5 separate regions of the Homo sapiens genome follow, and regions 2, 3, 4 and 5 are each linked to region 1. The links are contacts of gene promoters, found by promoter capture Hi-C in blood cells and fetal thymus (Javierre and others, 2016). All regions are on one chromosome and are shown on one strand. The core of a region is centred on a gene start or on the middle of the fragment in contact, and the rest is flanking DNA. Distances in the headings are between cores, read along the strand shown. Region 1 holds the start of EEF1G (eukaryotic translation elongation factor 1 gamma). Region 2 overlaps POLR2G (RNA polymerase II subunit G). Region 3 overlaps ASRGL1 (asparaginase and isoaspartyl peptidase 1). Region 4 has its middle 7.3 kb from the start of ZBTB3. Region 5 holds the start of TMEM179B (transmembrane protein 179B).

Evidence for each region. The method cuts DNA at HindIII sites, captures the fragments that hold promoters and counts their contacts. A CHiCAGO score of 5 or more calls a contact.
Region 2: a fragment that was not itself captured here is called in contact with the fragment with the promoter of EEF1G in region 1 in 5 of 17 cell types (total CD8 T cells, monocytes, neutrophils and 2 more); the score reaches 6.9 in total CD8 T cells.
Region 3: a fragment that was not itself captured here is called in contact with the fragment with the promoter of EEF1G in region 1 in 6 of 17 cell types (erythroblasts, megakaryocytes, M0 macrophages and 3 more); the score reaches 7.0 in erythroblasts.
Region 4: a contact is called between a fragment that was not itself captured here and the fragment with the promoter of EEF1G in region 1, in 3 of 17 cell types (naive B cells, neutrophils and naive CD8 T cells). The highest score is 7.1, in naive B cells.
Region 5: a contact is called between the fragment with the promoter of TMEM179B here and the fragment with the promoter of EEF1G in region 1, in 17 of 17 cell types (monocytes, fetal thymus, activated CD4 T cells and 14 more). The highest score is 44.5, in monocytes.

The regions. Positions count from the first base shown.
Region 1 is chr11:62,572,366-62,576,675 of GRCh38, reverse strand. EEF1G (eukaryotic translation elongation factor 1 gamma) reads left to right here and starts at 2,785. Exons shown (of 10, transcript NM_001404.5): 1 at 2,785-2,845; 2 at 3,934-4,092. The coding sequence starts at 2,834. It overlaps TUT1 (terminal uridylyl transferase 1, U6 snRNA-specific), which reads left to right. Exons shown (of 9, transcript NM_022830.3): 8 at 1-19; 9 at 432-1,624. The coding sequence ends at 1,582. RefSeq lists enhancers at 738-1,699, 1,857-1,916, 1,700-2,661, 2,617-2,816. The HindIII fragment of the contact is 8,528 bases long and covers 1-3,726 here.
Region 2 is chr11:62,765,037-62,769,057 of GRCh38, reverse strand. It overlaps POLR2G (RNA polymerase II subunit G), which reads right to left. Exons shown (of 8, transcript NM_002696.3): 4 at 3,826-3,876; 5 at 3,653-3,718; 6 at 3,334-3,405; 7 at 2,782-2,815; 8 at 2,348-2,564. The coding sequence ends at 2,551. Among named protein-coding and RNA genes, the nearest start is that of TAF6L, 4.3 kb to the left of the region's middle. The HindIII fragment of the contact is 6,556 bases long and covers 1-4,021 here.
Region 3 is chr11:62,380,569-62,384,713 of GRCh38, reverse strand. All of the region lies in intron 4 of ASRGL1 (asparaginase and isoaspartyl peptidase 1), which reads right to left. Among named protein-coding and RNA genes, the nearest start is that of SCGB1A1, 36 kb to the left of the region's middle. RefSeq lists enhancers at 1,438-2,003, 2,004-2,569. The HindIII fragment of the contact is 1,392 bases long and covers 1,509-2,900 here.
Region 4 is chr11:62,744,848-62,748,794 of GRCh38, reverse strand. No RefSeq gene overlaps it. Among named protein-coding and RNA genes, the nearest start is that of ZBTB3, 7.3 kb to the left of the region's middle. The HindIII fragment of the contact is 8,358 bases long and covers 1-3,947 here.
Region 5 is chr11:62,784,507-62,788,798 of GRCh38, reverse strand. It overlaps TMEM179B (transmembrane protein 179B), which reads right to left and starts at 1,397. Exons shown (of 5, transcript NM_199337.3): 1 at 1,272-1,397. The coding sequence starts at 1,367. TAF6L (TATA-box binding protein associated factor 6 like) reads right to left here. Exons shown (of 11, transcript NM_006473.4): 10 at 2,411-2,539; 11 at 1,457-2,282. The coding sequence ends at 1,503. It also overlaps a transcript of TMEM223 not described here. RefSeq lists a silencer at 1,767-1,876 and an enhancer at 2,127-2,326. The HindIII fragment of the contact is 7,473 bases long and covers 1-4,001 here.

The DNA.
Region 1 (4,310 bases), core at 1,536-4,035:
ATAAATGTGGAGCCCCTCAGTGAGTTTGGGGAGCCTGGTAGAGGACTAGTAATGATGTTCATCAACAGTAGGTAACATATATCACACTAACTGTGTGCCAGGCATGGTTCTCACAGAAAGCCTGTGAGATACCTAATATTATTACTGCCATTTTACAGATGAAGAAACCATGTTTGGGAGCAATTAAGTGACTTGCCCAAGGTTACACTGGCTAGCAAGGAGCAGCAGCATCTGGGCAAGGACATCATGTGGGGGCAGGGAGAGAGGTTTGACCTCTTGTTTATAGGGATCAGAGAAGCCTAGCTTCCTGGGACTCTGCTGAGCCCCTTGGAAGGGAAAAAGTCCTGCTAAGGAAATGGCTCTGGTGCAGGACCTGTATCAGTTCTGGCCTCTAAGTGACCCCCCTTTCCCCACTCTTCCTCCTCCTCCAGGTTCCCTGCTAGCCCAGTTCTTCTCCTGTGTATCTTGTTGGGATCTTCGTGGCTCCCTGCTGTCCCTGCGGGAGGGTCAGGCACTGCCTGTGGCAGGGGGCCTGCCTTCTAATCTCTGGGAGGGTCTGCGCCTTGGCCCCCTGAATCTCCAGGACCCTTTTGACCTGAGTCACAATGTCGCAGCCAATGTGACCAGCCGGGTGGCTGGGCGCCTACAGAACTGCTGCCGAGCAGCAGCCAATTACTGCCGAAGCCTCCAGTACCAGCGCCGTTCCTCCCGGGGTCGGGACTGGGGGCTGCTCCCTCTTCTGCAGCCCAGCTCCCCCAGCTCCCTGCTCTCTGCTACGCCGATCCCTTTACCCCTTGCACCCTTCACCCAGCTCACTGCTGCCCTGGTGCAGGTATTCAGGGAAGCACTGGGGTGCCATATAGAACAGGCAACCAAGAGAACGCGGTCAGAAGGAGGTGGAACTGGGGAGTCCTCTCAGGGAGGGACAAGCAAAAGACTCAAAGTAGATGGACAGAAAAACTGCTGTGAGGAGGGGAAAGAGGAGCAGCAGGGATGTGCAGGGGACGGTGGGGAAGACAGGGTAGAAGAGATGGTTATAGAGGTTGGAGAGATGGTGCAGGACTGGGCCATGCAGAGCCCTGGGCAGCCAGGGGACCTGCCCCTGACCACTGGAAAGCATGGAGCCCCTGGAGAAGAGGGGCAGCCCAGCCACGCAGCCCTGGCAGAGCGGGGGCCCAAGGGACATGAGGCAGCCCAAGAATGGTCTCAGGGTGAGGCAGGGAAGGGGGCATCCCTGCCCTCCTCAGCGAGCTGGCGCTGTGCCTTGTGGCACCGAGTGTGGCAAGGGCGGCGGCGAGCCCGTAGACGCTTGCAGCAGCAAACCAAGGAGGGAGCTGGAGGTGGCGCTGGCACAAGAGCAGGGTGGCTGGCGACTGAGGCTCAGGTCACCCAGGAGCTGAAAGGACTGAGTGGTGGCGAAGAGAGGCCAGAAACTGAGCCCCTGCTGAGCTTTGTGGCGTCTGTCTCCCCGGCTGACCGAATGCTCACTGTGACCCCGCTCCAGGATCCCCAAGGCCTGTTCCCTGATCTCCATCATTTCTTACAGGTTTTCCTCCCTCAAGCAATTCGACATCTCAAGTGAAGACATGGCCCCTGAAGGGCAATAAAGCTGCTAGTTTATTAATACAGTCTCCCGTTTCCTTTCATTTCCATCTGGTCATAATCCCCCTTCCCCTCCCCCAGAACTTCCTGCAGCTGCTCCCGTCTGACCCCGAACATGGGTCTCTCCCTGTTGCTCTCCACCCCACCAGCTTCTCCTTCCTACAGTTCGCACAGCTCGAGGGGAGTGCGGGGGCAGCACCGCGCGTGGCACCTGGCACCCGCGCAGAGTTCCTGAATGGCAGAGCGGTGGGTGGCTCCAGCAGTACTGAGAAGAGCCAGGTTTGCCTCCACATTCTTCCTGTCGCCTCAGATTTATGCGCACAAGGACGGAGATTTGCGTTCAGCGTTCTTCATTCTCTCCTTTAAACGAGGAGAGTTCATCCCGTTCTTAAACTGGGTAAGAGATTTCAAACCTGAACATGGGTCAAAAGCCATGAACATCAGAAGCGACGATGTCAGGTCTTCCAGCGTCAGCCCCTCCAGGGGCCGAGTCCGGAGGAGGTGGGAGGGACAGGGCGCGTTCTCCCTCATGTCCCTGCCCTGCTTCGGGCCGGAGGGCCGGTGCCCTGCTCGCAGTAACAGCACCCTGGAGCTGTCAGGGGTTGGATGTGAGCAAACCTCACTTTGGCAGGCGGGTTCAGACCGGGGCCCCTGTTAGACGCTCATCCCTTTCTGGAGGAAAAGCAGAGCAGGAACTAAAGGGATTTAGCACACACACTGCCACCTCCGCGCAGCAGCTGTTCCTCGCTCCCATGAGTTTCATAGAATCATGTGAGGGGCTTGGCAAAATCTACCATCAAGTCACTTGTCCCTGGGAGGGCCAGAGAGGGACGCCCCCAGTAGCACTGGCCGCGCCGGGCCAACAACCGCGCCACGTAGCCAAGAACTCGCGGCTTTTCCAGCGGGTTCTCACAACTTCCCCGCCCTCCACGCTGTCTACCTCCACGTCTAGACTCCGATTGGCCCGCTGCACCTGGGGGGCGGGCCAGTCAAGAGCTCCAATGCGCAGGCCCGAGCTTTTTCCGCGCTGGCCAGCAGGCCCCACCCACCCAGTTCTTTTTCCAATTCAGCGCCACTGGATACCGAACTGTCGTACGTATGTCTTCTGTTTCGTCCTCGCTTTCCGGCTGCTGTTTCTCCACGGCTCTCCTCTTTCCCCCTCCCTTCTCTCCCGGGCGGCTTACTTTGCGGCAGCGCCGAGAACCCCACCCCCTTTCTTTGCGGAATCACCATGGCGGCTGGGGTAAGTTTGCTGGCTCTGGTGGTTCGGGTCATCCTATCCACCGCCATCCTTTGCCCGAGTGGGGCCAGTCGGCGCCAGAGGAGTTCTGAGGTTGAGTGGGGAACTGATTCGGGGGTCTACAGACTGTACTGCTGGAGAGTAGGGTTCCTAGGGCCTGGAGGGGAACTGAGGCTGGGGCTCTCGGAGGCCAGAGGTGGAAGGGTCTGGGGAAGAGGAGAAAAGAGATGCCGGGTCTGGGCCGTCCGAAGCCTGAGAAAGGGGTTCGGCTCTGTTGCCGCTTTGAGGCGTGGTATCTGGGCAGGTTGACGAACTTCTGTGTCCGTTTTGTGGAGTAACACAGGGGACAGGTTGAAGAGGAGGGTCTTTGTAGGCAGGTCCGGCTGGCACGGTTAAAGGTCGTCTCTCAGGGAGGTTTGGGAGCGAGAGGATTCTCCGGACAGTGAAGTCAGACCAATTGGACTCCGCTGGCCGGCATAATAGAGAAGCCCAACGCCGGGGAACTCGCTGCGGGACAGGACCGGAGGGATGATATTCGCGACACGGAAAGAAAGGCTTTTTGAGAGAGAGGAGTTGATTTAAGAAGACGGCATGCCATCCCCTATCTCTGGCTAGTCTGAGGGGAACTAGAAATCTCTCGATCGTCGTGCGTGCCTTAGAGACAGGACGATGCTTTTGAAGCGGTGAGCAGCTGAGCAGTAGAGTAGGCAGGCGCTCGGAACCATCAATGAATGAAGCGAGGGCTCCGGGAAGGGAGGAGAGTATGTTTGTAGGCAGATGGAGTCTGATGGAGCTAGAAGTTCTGGATTTCTTGGAGATAGATTTGAGAGGAAGAGAATACTTCCAGAGGTGTCCTTAGGGAAGGTCAAATCTGTCAACAAGCTTTATTTAGCAGTTGGTGTGTAGTTCTGTTCTTGGTATTTCGGAGGATTCTGATTACATATGACAAGTACTAAAGGACTTGGTTCACCAGAGGAAGTAAAAGGGTGAGTTGAATACATTGGGATTATTCAGGAAAGTCATCCTGGAGAGTGGCATTAAGGACTGGGACCCTTCTACTCATTAATTTTGTCCCTCTCTTTCTCCCATAGACCCTGTACACGTATCCTGAAAACTGGAGGGCCTTCAAGGCTCTCATCGCTGCTCAGTACAGCGGGGCTCAGGTCCGCGTGCTCTCCGCACCACCCCACTTCCATTTTGGCCAAACCAACCGCACCCCTGAATTTCTCCGCAAATTTCCTGCCGGCAAGGTGAGTTGGGAGATGGGGAGCATCCTTCGGTTCTGAGAAACCAAGGCCCTGCGATTCTGTCACTCTGGTGGTGGCCCCCATCTCTAAAAGGGAGCTTCCCATGTTGTTTTATTCAATTTCGGTGATTTTATTTTGAGATAAATACAGATTTACATGTAGTTGTGAAAAAAAATACAGAGCTATTCTGTGACTTTATAAAATTCACGAGTTTACTTTGT
Region 2 (4,021 bases), core at 40-2,539, 190 kb before region 1:
TGTATTTTTAGTAAAGATGGGGTTTCGCCATGTTGGCCAGGCTGGTCTTCAACTCCTGACCTTGTGATCCGCCCGCCTCAGCTTCCCGAAGTGCTGGGATTACAGGCATGAGCCACCATGCCCGGCCAATTTTTTTTTTTTTTTTTTTTTGAGACAGAGTCCTTGCTCTGTTGCTAAGGCTAGAATGCAGTGGAGCAATCTCAGCTTACTGCAACCTCCACCTCCCCGGTTCAAGCGATTCTTGTGCCTCAGCCTCCTGAGTAGCTGGGATTACAGGCACGCACCACCATACCTGGCTAATTGTCGTATTTTTAGTAGAGACTGGGTTTTGCCATGTTGGCTAGGCTGTTCTCAAACTCCTGACCTCAAGTGATCCGCGCACCTCGGCCTCTCAAAGTGCTGGGATTACAGGCATGAGCCACCACAACAAGCCCAGACTGTTTTTAAAAAATCACAGCTCACCAGCTGTGTGACCTTAGGCATATTAGTTCACCTGTCTGACCTGTCTCATCAACTATAAAGCGGGATAACGAAATCTACTCCATGGAACTGTTGTGAAGATTCAGAAAAGTGTGTAAAGGATTTAGCATGTTGCCAAGCACATGGTACTCTATTAGCCTGTGACCGCTTTAGGAGGCTGTAACTTTCAGAATCCCTTAGTACCAACCTTAAAAGCTCAGAAGAGGCGGGGCGCGGCGGCTCATGCCTGTAATCCCAGCACTTTGGGAGGCCGAGGCGGGCAGATCACCTGAGGTCAGGAGTTTGAGACCAGCCTGATCAACATGGAGATACCTTGTCTCTACTAAAAATACAAAATTAGTTGGGCGTGGTGGCACATGCCTGTAATCCCAGCTACTTGGGAGGCTGAGGCAGGAGAATCCCTTGAACCCAGGAGGCGGAGGTTTCGGTGAGCCAAGATCGTACCATTGCACTCCAGCCTGGGCGACAGAGTGAGACTCTGTCTCAAAAAAAAAAAAAAAAAAAAGCTCAGAAGAGTTCTGGAAACCATCTCCAGGGCATCCCCACTTGTTCCCTTCCCCACTAGAGTGCCAGGCTTTTTTTTTTTCCTTTTTTTTTTTAATTAGTGCCAGCCTTTTCGATGCCACACCCTACATCCTCACCAGCACCCACATGCTCAGGATCCATGAGCTGCTTCTCTGTCCATCAATTTCTTCCTTTCAGGCTTGGTGTTATTCCCCTATTTGAGAACTTAGGAAGAACTCCAGGACTCCAGTGATCCTCCCACCTCAGCCTCCTAAGTACCTGAGACTACAGATACACACCACTGCACTGGCTTTGGGATGCATTATATAATAATTATGATAATTAAAAGTTGAGTGCCCATCATGGACCAGGCTCTATGCCAGCCACTTGAACATATGATGTCTGATACAGCAGCCTCCAAAGAGGGTTTTCTGCCCATTTTATAATGAGGAAACAGAAGGTCATCCAGCTAAGACTCTTTTCTTTTCTTTTTTTTTTTTTTTGAGATGGAGTCTCACTCTGAAGCCCAAGCTGGAGTGCAGTGGAGGGATCTCAGCTCACTGCAACCTCCCCCTCCCGGGTTCAAGCAATTTACCTGCCTCATCTCTTATCCTCTTGAGTCCAGCTAAGACTTAAACCAGCTCTGTATCAATCCAAATACCATGCTTTCTTGTTTTCTGCCACAGAGCTCTGTTTCCCAGGGAAGTCAAAGAAAGTTAAAGAAAAAATAATAATAATAATTGAAATGAGATTTCATAGATTAGTAGATAGGAAATGGACAAGCTGGGAAAGGGCATTCCAAGGTAGACAAAATAGTATTGCAGAGGTATAGTGCCAGGGAAAATTGGCATGTTTCTTTAATCCTGTAGGCATTTCATACATTTTTTGTCACCCTAACTAGATTGTGAGCCCTTTTACATCTTCAGTTCAGTTTAGTATAGTGATATACTATTGTTTATATACCCAACTTAGGAAAGGCTGTGTTGAGATCCTACAGTCTGTGTCATTACTAGCCTCTTATTCATCTCTCCCTGTCTGCTGTCTCCTCTCCCTTCTTTCCCAGCTATGCTCTTGGTTACTTTTAAGGGCAGGAGAAGAGCAAACACTCTGGAACTAGATCAGGACCCAGAATGCCACTAATGATGGTATCATTTGCTGGAAGCCAAAGACCCAACATCAGAGCCTTGACTTCAGTGAGGTCACCTTTAAACCTGGACAAATGGGTTAGTCAGTTCCCCTGGGTGGCTGAGGCTAGTAGAGGCATCAGTCTAAGAAAAAGAGGGGCTAGTAAGCAGCCAACTCCACAGCCTCTTTAAAGAGTTATTGTTCCTGCTAAAAAAAAAAAAAGAAGATAACACTTCCATGAGAACCAAGGACTTTTTATACTTAGAACACATACTGAAAAATGAGGAGGCAGTAGTTAAGCTACAAGAAGCACCAGATGCCTTCTGGGATGAGTTGCCTTCCTTGCCTCCACAACAGCAGCCAGACTGGACCTCTGGACAACATGATAAGTGTGACAATCACACTTCCTAGAGTAGGACCAAGGGTAGGAGGCCACCAGGCTCAGCTTACAAGCCCTGCGAAACCAGAAAAAGCATATCAGTTAGAACCGGAATTTAGGGTAGCCACAACCATGTACTCCTCATCCCAAGGCAAATGTCCTGGATCTTTCAAGCAGACAGCATGAAAGTTTCTTCTGTCTCTCTGATTTGGGCATTGAATCCTATATTACTCCCCACCCCCACACATCCCTTCTCCAGGCAATAACCCCAGCACCTATGATCAGGCACTCACCCAAGTAATCGTCCATCAGGGAGCCAATAGCAAACTGCAAGAAAGATGGTAAAAAGAAAGTGAAGCCAAGATGAGCACAGAACCAACCTCCACCCTGCAGCCCCAGGCCTTCTGCCCATCCATCCCTTCTTCCTGGCAGAAGAGCACAGAACCCCCTGAAACTGTGGGTGGTAAGAAATCGACAGCTCTCGGCCAGGCGCGGTGGCTCACACCTGTAATCCCAGCACTTTGGGAGGCCGAGTCGGGTGGATCATTAGGTCAGGAGATCGAGACCATCCTGGCTAACATGGTGAAACCCTGTCTGTACTAAAAATATAAAAAATTAGCCAGGTGTGGTGGCGGGCGCCTGTAGTCCCAGCTACTCGGGAGGCTGAGGCAGGAGAATGGCATGAACCCGGGAGGCAGAGCTTGCAGTGAGCCGAGATCGCGCCACTGCACTCCAGCCTGGGTGACAGAGCAAGACTCCGTCTCAAAAAAAAAAAAAAAAGAAAAAAGAAATCGACAGTTCTCAGCTCAACCTGGTATAGGTAGAGAGGTGGGGAAAAGACTCACAATGTCATTCTTGTCCACACGGGTCCCCACAATCTTTAAGCGGATCTCATCGTCCTGCTGAATCACAATATCCTGAGGAGAGGAGGGAACAGTGTACAGATGCTCCTCAGTTTATGAGAAGTTACATCACAATCACTTCACTGTAAGCCCGGGGGCATATTGAATGCACATCACTTTCACACCATCGTAAAGTCATAAAATCATGAATCAAGCCATGGTAATTCGGGGACCATCTGTACTCAGCCATCCCCAGGCCAATATTCTCCCTCAGGATGGCTGATTCTCTCCTTGTCTCCCTGACTTCTTTCTGTCCACTCACCTCATCCATTGTCTTGTAACATGGTGGGTTGGAGTTAGGATCAAACTCCATCTCTGAAGGGATGGACTGAAAGGAAAGTGAGATCTAGGTTAGCACTTTAAATGGATGCTTCAATAGATGGTGATGAATGAGTATCTGTCTTCCTCAGCCCCACCCAGTGTGCCCAGACTTACATGTCGAGAGATGAAGCAAGACATGGGCCCAATTTCTGTGAAGAGTCCAACCTAGAAAAAAAATGAGTGATCTTACGGCCGTGCACGGTGGCTCACGCCTGTAATCCCAGCACTTTGGGAGGCCGAGGCCGGTGGATCACGAGGTCAGGAGTTTCAGACCAGCCTGACCAACATGGTGAAACCCCGTCATTACTAA
Region 3 (4,145 bases), core at 955-3,454, 190 kb after region 1:
CAACTCCTGAGCTCGGGCAGTCTGCCTGTCTTGGCCTCCCAAAGTTCTAGGATTACAGGCATAAGCCACCACACCCAGCCATGAATGTTTTGATATACATAGTGAAATTATGATTACAGTCAACTAGAATAACATACCTATCATCTCACAATTACCTTTCTTTATTTTTTTGTGGTAAGAGTACCTAAAATCTACTTTTTAAATTTTTTTGAGATGGAGTCTTGCTCTTTTGCCCAAGCTGAAATGCAGTGGCGCCATCTCAGCTCACAGCAGCCTCTGCCTCCCGGGTTTAAGGAATTCTCTGCTTCAGCCTCCCAAACAGCTGAGATTACAGGCGTGTACCACCACACCCAGCTAATTTTTCTGTATTCTTAGTAGAGATGAAGTTTCACCATCTTGGCCAGGCTGGTCTTGAACTCCTGACCTCATGATCTGCCTGCCTTGGCCTCCCAAAGTGCTGGGATTAAAGGTGTGAGCCACTGCGCCCGGACTTTTTTTTGTTTTTGAGACGGAGTCTTGCACTGTTGCCCAGGCTGGAGTGCAGGGGTGTGATCTTGGCTCACTGCAAGCTGACAAACTACCAATGATGACTTAACTTAGTTATTATTGTGCATACCAGGGTCATTTGTTAATCGGCTGGTGATGGCAGATGAATGGCAAACACACACACACACACACGCACACACGTGCACACACACACATGCACACACACAGATGCATTTAATAAGTTATGTATTTATTCCATTAAAATATTTTTTCTTGGCTTCATTCCAGGGAGTACTGATTTTTTTTTTTTTTTTGAGACCAACTCTTGCCCTGTCGCCCAGGCTGGAGTGCAGTGGTGTGATTTCGGCTCACTGCAACTGGGTTCTAGCAGTTCTCCTGCCTCAGCCTCCTGAGAAGCTGGGACTACAGGTGCACACTGCCAAGCCTGGCTAATTTTTTGTATTTTTTAGTAGAGATGGGGTTTCACCATGTTGCCCAGGCTGGTCATGAACTCCTGAGCTCAGGCAGTCCACCCACCTTGGCCTCCCAAAGTGCTGGGATTACAGGCGTGAGCCACCAAGCCTGGCCTGATGATGTTCTTTTTTTTTTTTTTTTTTTTTTTTTTGAGTAGGAGTCTCGCTCTGTCGCCCAGGCTGGAGTGCAGTGGCGGGATCTCGGCTCACTGCAAGCTCCGCCTCCTGGGTTCACGCCATTCTCCTGCCTCAGCCTCCCGAGTAGCTGGGACTACAGGCGCCCGCCACTACGCCCGGCTAATTTTTTGTATTGTTAGTAGAGACGGGGTTTCACCGTTTTAGCCGGGATGGTCTCGATCTCCTGACCTCGTGATCCGCCCGCCTCGGCCTCCCAAAGTGCTGGGATTACATGCGTGAGCCACCGCGCCCGGCCCCTGATGATGTTCTTATACTTAACGTGACTTCTATTGACAAAATGGCAAAAGACAAGCTTTCTTGAGTCAACATAGTTTTTAGCAAGTTTTTAATTTATTTTAATTTGGAGAAGCTTCCTTCTGCTGAAGCAGCAGCAACTGGAATTACCAACAAAATTCTCAAAGCAGTACTTAGATTTAGAAATGAATACTGATTTTTACATTATCACACTCAAATACTATATGGATTTGTGGGGAAACGAAAGAGATCAGGCTGTTACTGTGTCTATGTAGAAAGAAGTAGACATAAGAGACTCTATTTTGTTCTGTACTAAGAAAAATTCTTCTGCCTTGAGATGCTGTTAATCTGTAACCCTACCCCAACCCTGTGTCGCAGAGACGTGCTGTGTTGACTCAAGGTTTAATGGATTTAGGGCTATGCAGGCTGTGCTTTGTTAAAAAAGTGCTTGAAGGCAGTATGCTTGTTAAAAGTCATTACCATTCTCTAATTTCAAGTACCCAGGGACACAATACACTGCGGAAGGCTGCAGGGACCTCTGCCTAGGAAAGCCAGGTATTGTCCAAGGTTTCTCCCCATGTGATAGCCTGAGATATGGCCTTGTGGGAAGGGAAAGACCTGACCGTCCCCCAGCCCGACACTGTCCCCCAGCCCGACACCCCACCCGTAAAGGGTCTGTGCTGAGGAGCATTAGTAAAAGAGGAAGGCCTCTTTGCAGTTGTGATAAGAGGAAGGCATCTGTCTCCTGCTTGTCCCTGGGCAATAGAATGTCTGGGTTTAAAACCCGATTGTATGTTCTATTTACTGAGATAGGAGAAAACAGCCTTAGGGCTGGAGGTGAGAGGTGCTAGCGACAATACTGCTCTTTAATGTTTGTATACATGCACATCAAGGCATAGCACCTTTCCTTATTTATGACACAGAGACATTTGTTCACATGTTTTCCTGCTGACCCTCTCCTCTCTATTAACTTATTGTCCTGCCACATCCCCCTCTCCAGATGGTAGAGATAATGATCAGTAAATACTGAGGGAACTCAGAGACTGTTGCCGGTGGGGGTCCTCCGTATGCTGAGCACCGGTCCCCTGGGCCCACTTTTTTTTCTCTATACGTTGTCTCTGTCTCTCCTGCCTCAGCCTCCTGAGTAGCTGGGACTACAGGCACCCGCCACTGGGCCCGGCTAATTTTTTGTATTTTTAGTAGAGATGGGGTTTCACCCTGTTAGCCAGGATGGTCTCGATCTCCTGACCTCGTGATCCACCGGCCTCGGCCTCCCAAAGTGCGGGGATTACAGGCGTGACCCACCGCACCCAGCCTCTTATTTCTTTTCTCAGTCTCTCGTCCCACCTGATGAGAAACGCCCACAGGTGTAGAGGGGCTGGCCACCCCTTCATCTGGTGCCCAACGTGGGTGCTTTTCTCTAGGGTGAAGGTGAGCTAGAGCGTGGTCATTGAGAACAAGTTGATGAGAGATTCCCGAGTACGTCTACAGTCAGTCTTGTGGTAAGCTTGTGCCCTCGGAAGAACCTAGGGTAACAATGGGGCAAACTGAAAGTAAATATGCCTCTTATCTCAGCTTTATTAAAATTCTTTTAAAAAGGGGGGAGTTAGAGTCTCTACAAAAAAATCTAATCACGCTATTTCAAACAGTAGAACAATTCTGCCCATGGTTTCTAGAACAGGGAACTTTAGATCTAAAAGATTGGGAAAAAATTGGCAAAGAATTAAAACAAGCAAGTAGGAAGGGTAAAATCATCCCACTTACCGTATGGAATGATTGGGCCATTATTAAAGCAGCTAATTTAGAACTGTTTCAAACAGGAGAAGATAGCGTTTCAGTTGCTGATGCCCCTGAAAGCTGTGTAATAGATTGTGAAGAATAGGCAGGGATAGAATCCCAGAAAGGAATGGAAAGTTCAAAAGTTCACATTGTAAATATGTAGCAGAGTCTGTAATGGCTCGGTCAATGCAAAATGTTGACTACAATCAATTACAGGAGGTAATATATCCTGAAGCATTAGAATTAGAAGAAAAAGGTCCAGAATTAGCGGGGCCATCAGAGTCTAAACCATGATGGCCAACTCCTCTTCCAGCGGTTCAGATGCCTGTAACATTACAACCTCAAATGCAGGTTAGACAAGTACAAACCCCAAGAGAATATCAAATAGAGAGTCTCTGTCATGGCAACGCCAATCCAAATACAGTATCCACAATATCAGCCGGTAGAAAATAAGACCCAACCGCCAGTAGCCTATCAATACTGGCCGCCAGCCGAACTTCAGTATCGGCCGCCCCCAGAAAATCAGTATGGACAGCCAGGAGTGTTTCCAGCACCACAGGGCAGGGCGCTATAGCCTCAGCCGCCCACTATAAGACTTTATCCTACAGCACCACCTAGTGGACAAGGTAGTGCATTACATAAAATTATTGATAAGGCAAGGAAACAAGGAGATATTGAGGCGTGGCAATTCCCAGTACCGATGCCACCTGGAGAAGGGGCCCAAGAAGGAGCGCCTACCCTAGTTGGGGCCAGATATGAGTCCTTTTCTATAAAAATGTTAAAAGATATGAAAGAGGGAGTAAAACAGTATGGACCCAACTCCCCTTATATGAGAACATTATTAGGTTCCACTGCTCATGGACATAGACTCATTCCTTATGATTGGGAGATTTTGGCCAAATCATCACTCTCACTGTCTCAATTTTTACAATTTAAGAGTTGGTGGATTGATGGGGCACAAGAACAGGTCTGAAG
Region 4 (3,947 bases), core at 1,261-3,760, 170 kb before region 1:
AGTTGGAGACCAGGCTGGCCAACATAGTGAAACCCCATCTCTACTAAAAATACAAAAAATTAGCTGGGCGTGGTGGCAGGCGTCTGTAATCCCAGCTACTCGGGAGGCTGAGGCAGGAGAATTGCTTGAACCCGGGAGGCGGAGGTTGCAGTGAGCCGAGATCACGCCATTGCACTCCAACCCTGGGTGACAGTGCGAGACTCCATCTCAAAAAAGAAAAAAAGAAAAGGGGGAAAATGACAAGTAAATATTCTTCTCTCTTTTTGAGTCTGTGTCATATTCAGCACTGTGAACCCTTACCAGCAAGTGACTATTTTTGAGTTACAGGAAGGAAAGGTGAGCAGCCATGTGGCTAAAGAAAGCTCCTTAACTAGGACATATGGGAAGCAAAAGATGGTTAACATTTTTCTGCTGAATGAATTCTACATTCTTTCACATTCTTTGTGTTGAAATAAACTTCTAGCTTATCTTTCAAATGGCTCCTAATTTTATTTATGCAAGTACGTTACTGCTTTAATTCCTTGATGAAACAAGGCAAGATATAAATAAATACAATAAAAGCTATTCTAGCTGGGTAGAACACCTTTTCAAAAGTCTTCCCTAGAGTAAATATCAAATCAAAATGCCTTTATGAATCAGTTGCCCTTAAAAGGGTGGATTTTACGGTCTGAATATCTCAATTTCAACAGAAACACAAAACAGAAAAAAAAAAACCTGGTTGTCTCAGAACATCAGTTCTTAAAATCAAGGCATAATAAATGGTCTATATGTGTAGACAATTTTGATGTAGATGATCTCTCCAGACAGTCTGGGGAACACAGGAACCATTGTATTGATCAGACTGTGGTCACATGTACTACTTAGCTAAAGAGGTTCTGTTCCTGGTGAGATTCTCCTGAGAAGCAAGCATTTGCTTTCAATATCCAGCATAAAGGGCATGTTTTCTTGCAGGTGGCAGTCAGGAATTTGCAATATTTTAATTAATTAATTTATTTATTTATTTTGAGACAAGGTCTCTCTGTTTCCGAGGCTGGAGTGCAGTGGCACTATCACGACTCACTGCAGCCTCAACCCCTCTAGCTCCCAAGCAGCTGGAACTACAGGCATGCACTATCACGCATGGCTAATTTTTGTATCTTTTGTGGAGATGACGTTTCGCGCTGTTGCTCAGGCTGGTCTCAAACTCCTGGGCTCAAGCGATCCACCTGCCTTGGCCTCCCAAAGTGCTGGGATTTCAGGCATGAGCCATCATGCCCAGCCTGCAAGATATGTAAAGCAGTAGCTATCACAGTTACAGCCACTGTGGCCTCGTTATTATTACTATTTTTTGACGGAATTTCACTCTTGTTGCCCAGGCCAGAGTACAATGGCATGATCTTGGCTCAGTGCAATCTCGGCTCACTGCAACCTCCGCCTCCTGGGTTCAAGCGATTCTCCTGCCTCAGCCTCCCTAGTAGCTGGAATTACAGGCTGCGCCACCACGCCTGGTTAATTTTTTTTGTATTTTTAGTAGAGACGGGGTTTCTCCATGTTGGTCAGGCTGGTCTGGAACTCCCGACCTCAGATCCGCCCCGCCTCGGCCTCCCAAAGTGCTGGCATTATAGGTGTGAACCACCGCACCCAGCCTCATTTTATTTATTATTTTTTTTTTAGTTTGATTTTTTTTTTAGACAGAGTCTCCCTCTGTCACCCAGGCTGGAGTGCAGCGGTGGCTGGGATTACAGGAATAAGCCACCATACCCAGCCTGTGGCCTCAGTTTATCTACTGAATGGTAGGAACAGTTTATGCCCATTTGTAGAGATGTGATCAATAATTCTTTCTCATTTCCACTGGTCTTAATGCTCCCATTCAGGGATTCAAGGAACCATAGGCTCCTGGGGATCAGCTCATCTAATTTCTAGTCTAACACTGAATCCTCCTTTTGCCAGTTGTTATCAAACCTCCACTTGAGGCCGGGAATGGCACCTCACACCTAGAATTCCAGCACTCTGGGAGGCCGAGGTGGACAGATTATTGGGAGGTCAGGAGTTCAAGACCAGCCTGGCCAAGATGGTGAAACCCTGTCTCTACTAAAAATACAAAAATTAGGCAGGCATGTCAGTGTGCACACACCTGTGGTCCCAGCTAATTGCTTGGCGGCCAAGCCAGGAGAATTGCTTGAACCTGGGAGGCAGAGGTTGTAGCAAGCCAAGATCACACCACTGCATTCCAGCCTGGGGAACAGAGCGAGACTCCATCTCAAAAAACAAAAAACAAACAAAAAAAAAACAACCAGGCCAGGCACGGTGGCTCACACCTGTAATCCCAGCACTTTGGGAGGCTCAGTCTGGTGGATCACAAGGTCAGGAGTTCAAGACCAGCCTGGCCAAGATGGTGAAACCTCATCTCTACTAAAAATACAAAAATTAGCCGGGAGTGCTGGCGGGCACCTGTAATCCTAGCTACTCAGGAGGCTGGGGCAGGAGAATCGCTTGAACCTGCGAGGCGGAGGTTGCAGTGAGCTGAGATCGTGCCACTGTACTCAAGCCTGGGCTACAGAGCGAGACTCTGTCTCAAAAAAAAAAAAAAAAACCTCGGCCTGGCGTGGTGGCTCACGCCTGTAATCCCAGCACTTTGGGAGGCCGAGGCAGGCGGATCACAAGGTCAGGAGATCGAGACAATCCTGGCTAACACGGTGAAACCCCGTCTCTACTAAAAATGCAAAAAGTTAGCCAGGCGTGGTGGCGGGAGCCTGTAGTCCCAGCTACTCAGGAGGCTGAGGCAGGAGAATGGAGTGAACCTGGGAGGCGGAGCTTGCAGTGAGCCGAGATCACGCCACTGCACTCCAGTCTGGGCGACAGAGCGAGACTCTGTCTCAAAAAAAAAAAAAAAAAACCCAAAAAACTCTTTCCCAAAGGAAACCTATTGTTGGTGTCCTAGTTGTTGGATTTCCTTAGACTGAGCCAAAATCTGTCTCCCTTTATAGGAGTATGGACCAGGCCCCAGCCTATTAAGTTTCATACTGAAAATGTGTGCTTGTGAGCTATAAACTGACTTAGTTTTCTTTTTTCTTTTCTTTTTTTTTTTTTTTTTGAGACGGAGTCTAGCTCCGTAGCCCAGGCTGGAGTGCAGGGGCGTGATCTCGGCTCACTGTAAGCTCCGCCTCCTGAGTTCACGCCATTCTCCTGCCTCAGCTTCCCGAGTAGCTGGGATTACAGGCGTGTGCCACCACGCCTGACTAATTTTTTGTATTTTTTGTAGAGACGGGGTTTCACCGTGTTAGCCAGGATGGTCTCGATCTCCTGATCTCGTGATCTGCCCGCCTTGGCCTCCCAAAGTGCTGGGATTACAGGCGTGAGCCACCGCACCCGGCCACTTATTTTAGTTTTTCGAGATGGGGTCTATGTTGCCCAGGGTGCTCTTGAACTCCTAGGCTCAAGTGATTCTCCCACTTCAGACTCCTGAGTTTTTTTGTGTATTGGGTCAAGTGATATGAAGTGCTGTACAGTGCCCTGTACAATTTCATCAGCAAGCAATTTCAGCAGACTAAATACTATTATCACACTCAAGAAAACTGACAATAATTCTTTTTTTTTTTTTTTTTTTGAGACAGAGTCTTGCTCGGTCGCCCAGGCTGGAGTGCAGTGGTGTGATCTCGGCTCACTGCAAGCTCTGCCTCCCGGGCTCACACCATTCTCCTGCCTCAGCCTCCCAAGTAGCTGGGACTACAGGCGCCCGCCACCACGCCTAGCTCATTTTTTTTCTATTTTTAGTAGAGACGGTGTTTCACTGTGTTAGCCAGGATGGTCTGGATCTTCTGACCTCGTGATCCACCCGCCTCGGCCTCCCAAAGTGTTGGGATTACAGGCGTAAGCCAACGCACCCGGCCTTTTTTTTTTTTTTTTAGATAAGAGTTTTGCTCTTGCCCAGGCTGGAGTGCAGTTGCGCCATCTCGGCTCACCGCAAC
Region 5 (4,292 bases), core at 148-2,647, 210 kb before region 1:
GCAATGAGCTTCAGAGAAGCCTCACAAGTTATGGTCTCTGTGCAGAAACCTTAGAGTAAACCCAGGCCTTGTATATCCTTCAACAAATAACTATCTGTGAGGTGCTTTTTTTTTTTTTTTTTGCTGGAGTGCAGTGGCGCCATCTCGGCTCACTGCACGCTCTGCCTTCTGGGTTCATGCCATTCTCCTGCCTCAGCCTCCTGAGTAGCTGGGACTACAGGCACCCGCCACCATGCCTGGCTAATTGTTTGTATTTTTAGTAGAGACAGGGTTTCACCGTGTTGGCCAGGATGGTCTTGATCTCCTGACCTCGTGATCCGCCTGCCACGGCCTCCCAAAGTGCTGGGATTACAGGCGTGAGCCACCAGGCCCGGCCAGTGTTTTTGTTTTTGTTTTTGCGATGGAGATTCGCTCGTCACCCAGGCTGGAGTGCAATGGCACGATCTCGACTCACTGCAACCTCCGCCTCCCAGGTTCAAGCGATTCTCCTGCCTCAGCCTCCGAAGTAGCTGGGATTACAGGCATGAGCCACCACACCCGGCTAATTTTTGTATTTTTAGTAGAGACAGAGTTTTGCCATGTTGGCCAGGCTGGTCTCGAACTCCTGACCTCAAGTGATCCGCCTGCCTCAGCCTCCCAAAGTGCTGGGATTACAGGCGTGAGTCACCGCGCCCGGCGGATCTCTGAGGTTTTCTCATGGTGTAAAATAGGCACACTAGTGCCTACTTTATAGGCATTAAATGAACCCATGTTTATTAACCAGATTACCTGGCTGGGGTAAACGATGTAAATTATTGGCTTCTACCTTTACGTCAGCGTTTTCTCCATCTCTCATTTTGTCATTTAACACACTGTGCTACAATCATGTGGCAGCTTGATCATCTCCACTACACTATGCTTTATTTCTCGACAAAGCTCAGCACAAATGGCTTCTGATTTAACGGATGGACGCAGGTTCTGCACTGACTTCTGTTTCGGAACCACAGTAAGGCTGTGCAGCAGGAGCCACGAAACCCGACTCCACCTAGTGCTTTAAGACGCTACTGACCCGTCCCTTTGGCGAGGGGACAACTTCGAAGTATGACCTGGCCAGGAGGAGCCACAAAGCGCGATTAGCCTCGCTGCATTTCAGGTACAGGCCGGCGCCAGCCGTGCCTCACCAGGTCCACCGGCTCCGAGCAGCAGCAAGCCCGGTCGGAAAGCGAAAGTGGCCTCGCCATGTCCAGACCGGCCAGCTCCCCCGCCTACCTGACCCCGCCCCGCAGCCGCACCTGGGTCCGAGTCATCGCCGCGGCCGCCACGGCCCCGCACAGGAAGGCGGCAGCAAAGAGCGCAAGCTCGACGCGCTGCAGCCAGGACAGCGCCATGGCGCCCTGACCACCAGGAAGCGCCGCTGCAGCAGCACCCCGCCCAAAGCCCACCTTATCCGGCGCGACCCACGAAGGTGGAGACGTCATTTCCGGGGGCGGGATTTATTTACAAGGAACGAAGGGGCCACTGACTCAGAGCGGCAAGTACAGCGAGTAGTCCGAGAGCGCCCACCGGCGGGCGGGGCGGCTGGTACGGCCGATCATGGGCAGTTTCTGCACGTAGCGCGAGGCCGGGCTAGGCCCGTACGGCGCGGGGAAGGCAGTCTGGAAAAGGCGCCCGCGGCAGCGCCTCCCAGCCTGCCGCCCGGCTATGATGAAACGAAAGTGCGGGGCGCCGCGCGGGGCGAAACGGCTCTTCTGGAAAACGTCGCGGGTGCCGGTCCCGGGGCCCTGCTGCCGGGGTGCCCCGCGCGCCCGATGCACGCGCGGCAAGGGCCTGCTCTCAGAGGCGGCGGGCCCAGAGGCCGACGCGGGGCCGCCTCCGCCGCTGCCCCGGGGGCTCTCGTCGCCGTGCGGGCTGACTATGGCGCTTGCCGTCAGCTGCGGCATCTTCCGCACCGAGTCCGGGGCTGCCGCCGGCTCCTTCTTGTCCCCGGGCGGCCGCGGAGCCGTGGGTGCAGGCTGGCCGGTGCCAAAGCGTGTGGCCAAGCTGTCACCGAAGAAGGCGTAGAGCTCCCGGTAGATGTCGGCCAGGGTCACCGAAAGAGAAGGGTCCTCCGGCCCCGCGCCCCCTGGCGGCAGCGGGAGGCCGGACCCAAAGCTGGGTTCTGCACCGCCCCCGGAGGACGACTCTTGAAAGAGAAGGCTGTCCCATGGCAGGTCGTCCAGGCGCCGGCACCCCCTGCCACCTGGGCCACCCCTGTTGGGCTCTGCTGCCTGGGCCTTCATCTTCAGCAGTCGCTCTACCGCCACCTGTAAGAGCCAAGGACTAAGATAGGCAAAAAATTCGAGGAACCTGGGCCCATCAAATATTCCAAAGTAAGCCTGCTTGGCTGCTAAGCTCATGCAGGGAAGGGAGGCTGGAAGGGGACGGTACTCACCAGAATGGCTCCATAGACTTTGTGTCCATCTGCTTTGACCTGGGCATTAGATACTGAATAATCATCCAGCACAGCCTGCAAGTTTGTCCAGTAGGTGGACAGGTGTGGGTACAGGACTCGTTCTACTGCCTGGAAGGAAGAGAAGGAATACAGTTAGCATGTCTTTGATACTTATTCCCTCTCAAGGACCCTTTCCCATGAAAGACCTACCTTTATCTCTGATCCTAGACAGGGCTCAATCCTCCTAAATTCCCTGATTGGCATATTCAACCATATATTTATTTGGAACCTACTGTATACCTAAGCTAGGCATTGGGAATAAAGATAAGGTACAAAGGGAGACAATAAAAAATATACCCAATATCACTGCCCTGTGTGCTAAATAATGCTCATTACTGACAACTCCAAAATTTAGTTTGCATACTGCTACCCTATACAATCAGGCAAGTACTGGCTTCACTTAGATGTAAACTGAGACTCAGTTCAAACAATCTGCATAAAAACAACCAACCAGAGACTTGGACTCTGATTATACAATTTAAAATCCTGTGATTGGACAGGCGCTGTGGCTCACGCCTGTAATCCCAGCACTTTGGGAGGCCGAGGCCAGTGGATCACCTGAGGTCAGGAGTTCAAGACCAGCTTGGCCAAGATGGTGAAACCCCATCTCTACTAAAAATACAAAAATTAGCTGGGCGCAGTAGCAGTTGCCTGTAATCTCAACTACTTGGGAGGCTGAGGCAGGAGAATCACTTGAACTCGGGGGGCAGAGGTTGCAGTGAGCCGAGATCACACCACCGCACTCCACCCTGGGAAGCAAAGTGAGACTCCGTCTCAAAAAAAAAAAAAAGAATTAACTATAAGGAAAATACCAGCTGGGCCTATAAGGAAAATACCAGCCGGGCGCTGTGGCTCACGCCTGTAATCCCAGCACTTTGGGAGGCCAAGGCAGGCGGATCAGGAGGTCAGGAGTTCGAGACGAGCCCTGGCCAGCACAGTGAAACCCCGTCTCTACTAAAAATACAAAAAATTAGCCAGGTATGGTGGTGAGCGCCTGTAATCCCAGCTACTCGGGAGGCTGAAGCAGGAGAATCGCTTGAACCCAGGAGGCAGAGGTTGCAGTGAGCCGAGGTCGCGCCATTGCACTCCAGCCTGGGTGACAGTGTGAGACTCTGTCTCGAAAAAAAAAAAAAGGAAAGAAAATACCATGCCAGAATTTACAAAAGTCTACAGACACTCAAGAAAAAGATAGGCGAGGTGCAGTGCCTCACGCTTGTAATCCCAGCACTTTGGGAAGGCCAAAGGATCACTTAAACCAAGGAGTTTGAGACCAGCCTGGGCAATGTAGGAAGACCTCATCTCTATTAAATAAAAAAAGAAAAGAAAAAGATGATCTAAATCTTATTAAAGTAAATATAAAAAAGAAATACTCCCCACATCATTCTGTAAGGCCAGTATAACCCTGATTCTAAAACCAGACAAGGACAGTACATGAGAGGAAACATGTTTAATTTCACTCCTGAATATAAACCCTTTTAAAATTTAGCAGACCCACAAGTAAATTAAAATGCATTACAGTCCAATAAAAGCTTTGGGTTTTTTCTTTACGACTATCCCATGACATAGTTTAGTGTATCATGGAACTATAAAGATTGTTTACTATCAGGAAATCTGTAATAACATTGGAAAACAAAAGCTGAAAAGCCTTCGGATCATTTCAAAAGATGCAGAAAAACCATCTGATAAAAATCCAATATAAATTGATGATAAAATTAAGAATATAGGCCAGGCACGGTGGCTCACACCTGTAATCCCAACACTTTGGGAGGCCAAGGCGGGCGGATCATGAGGCCAGGAGATCGAGACCATCCTGGCTAACACG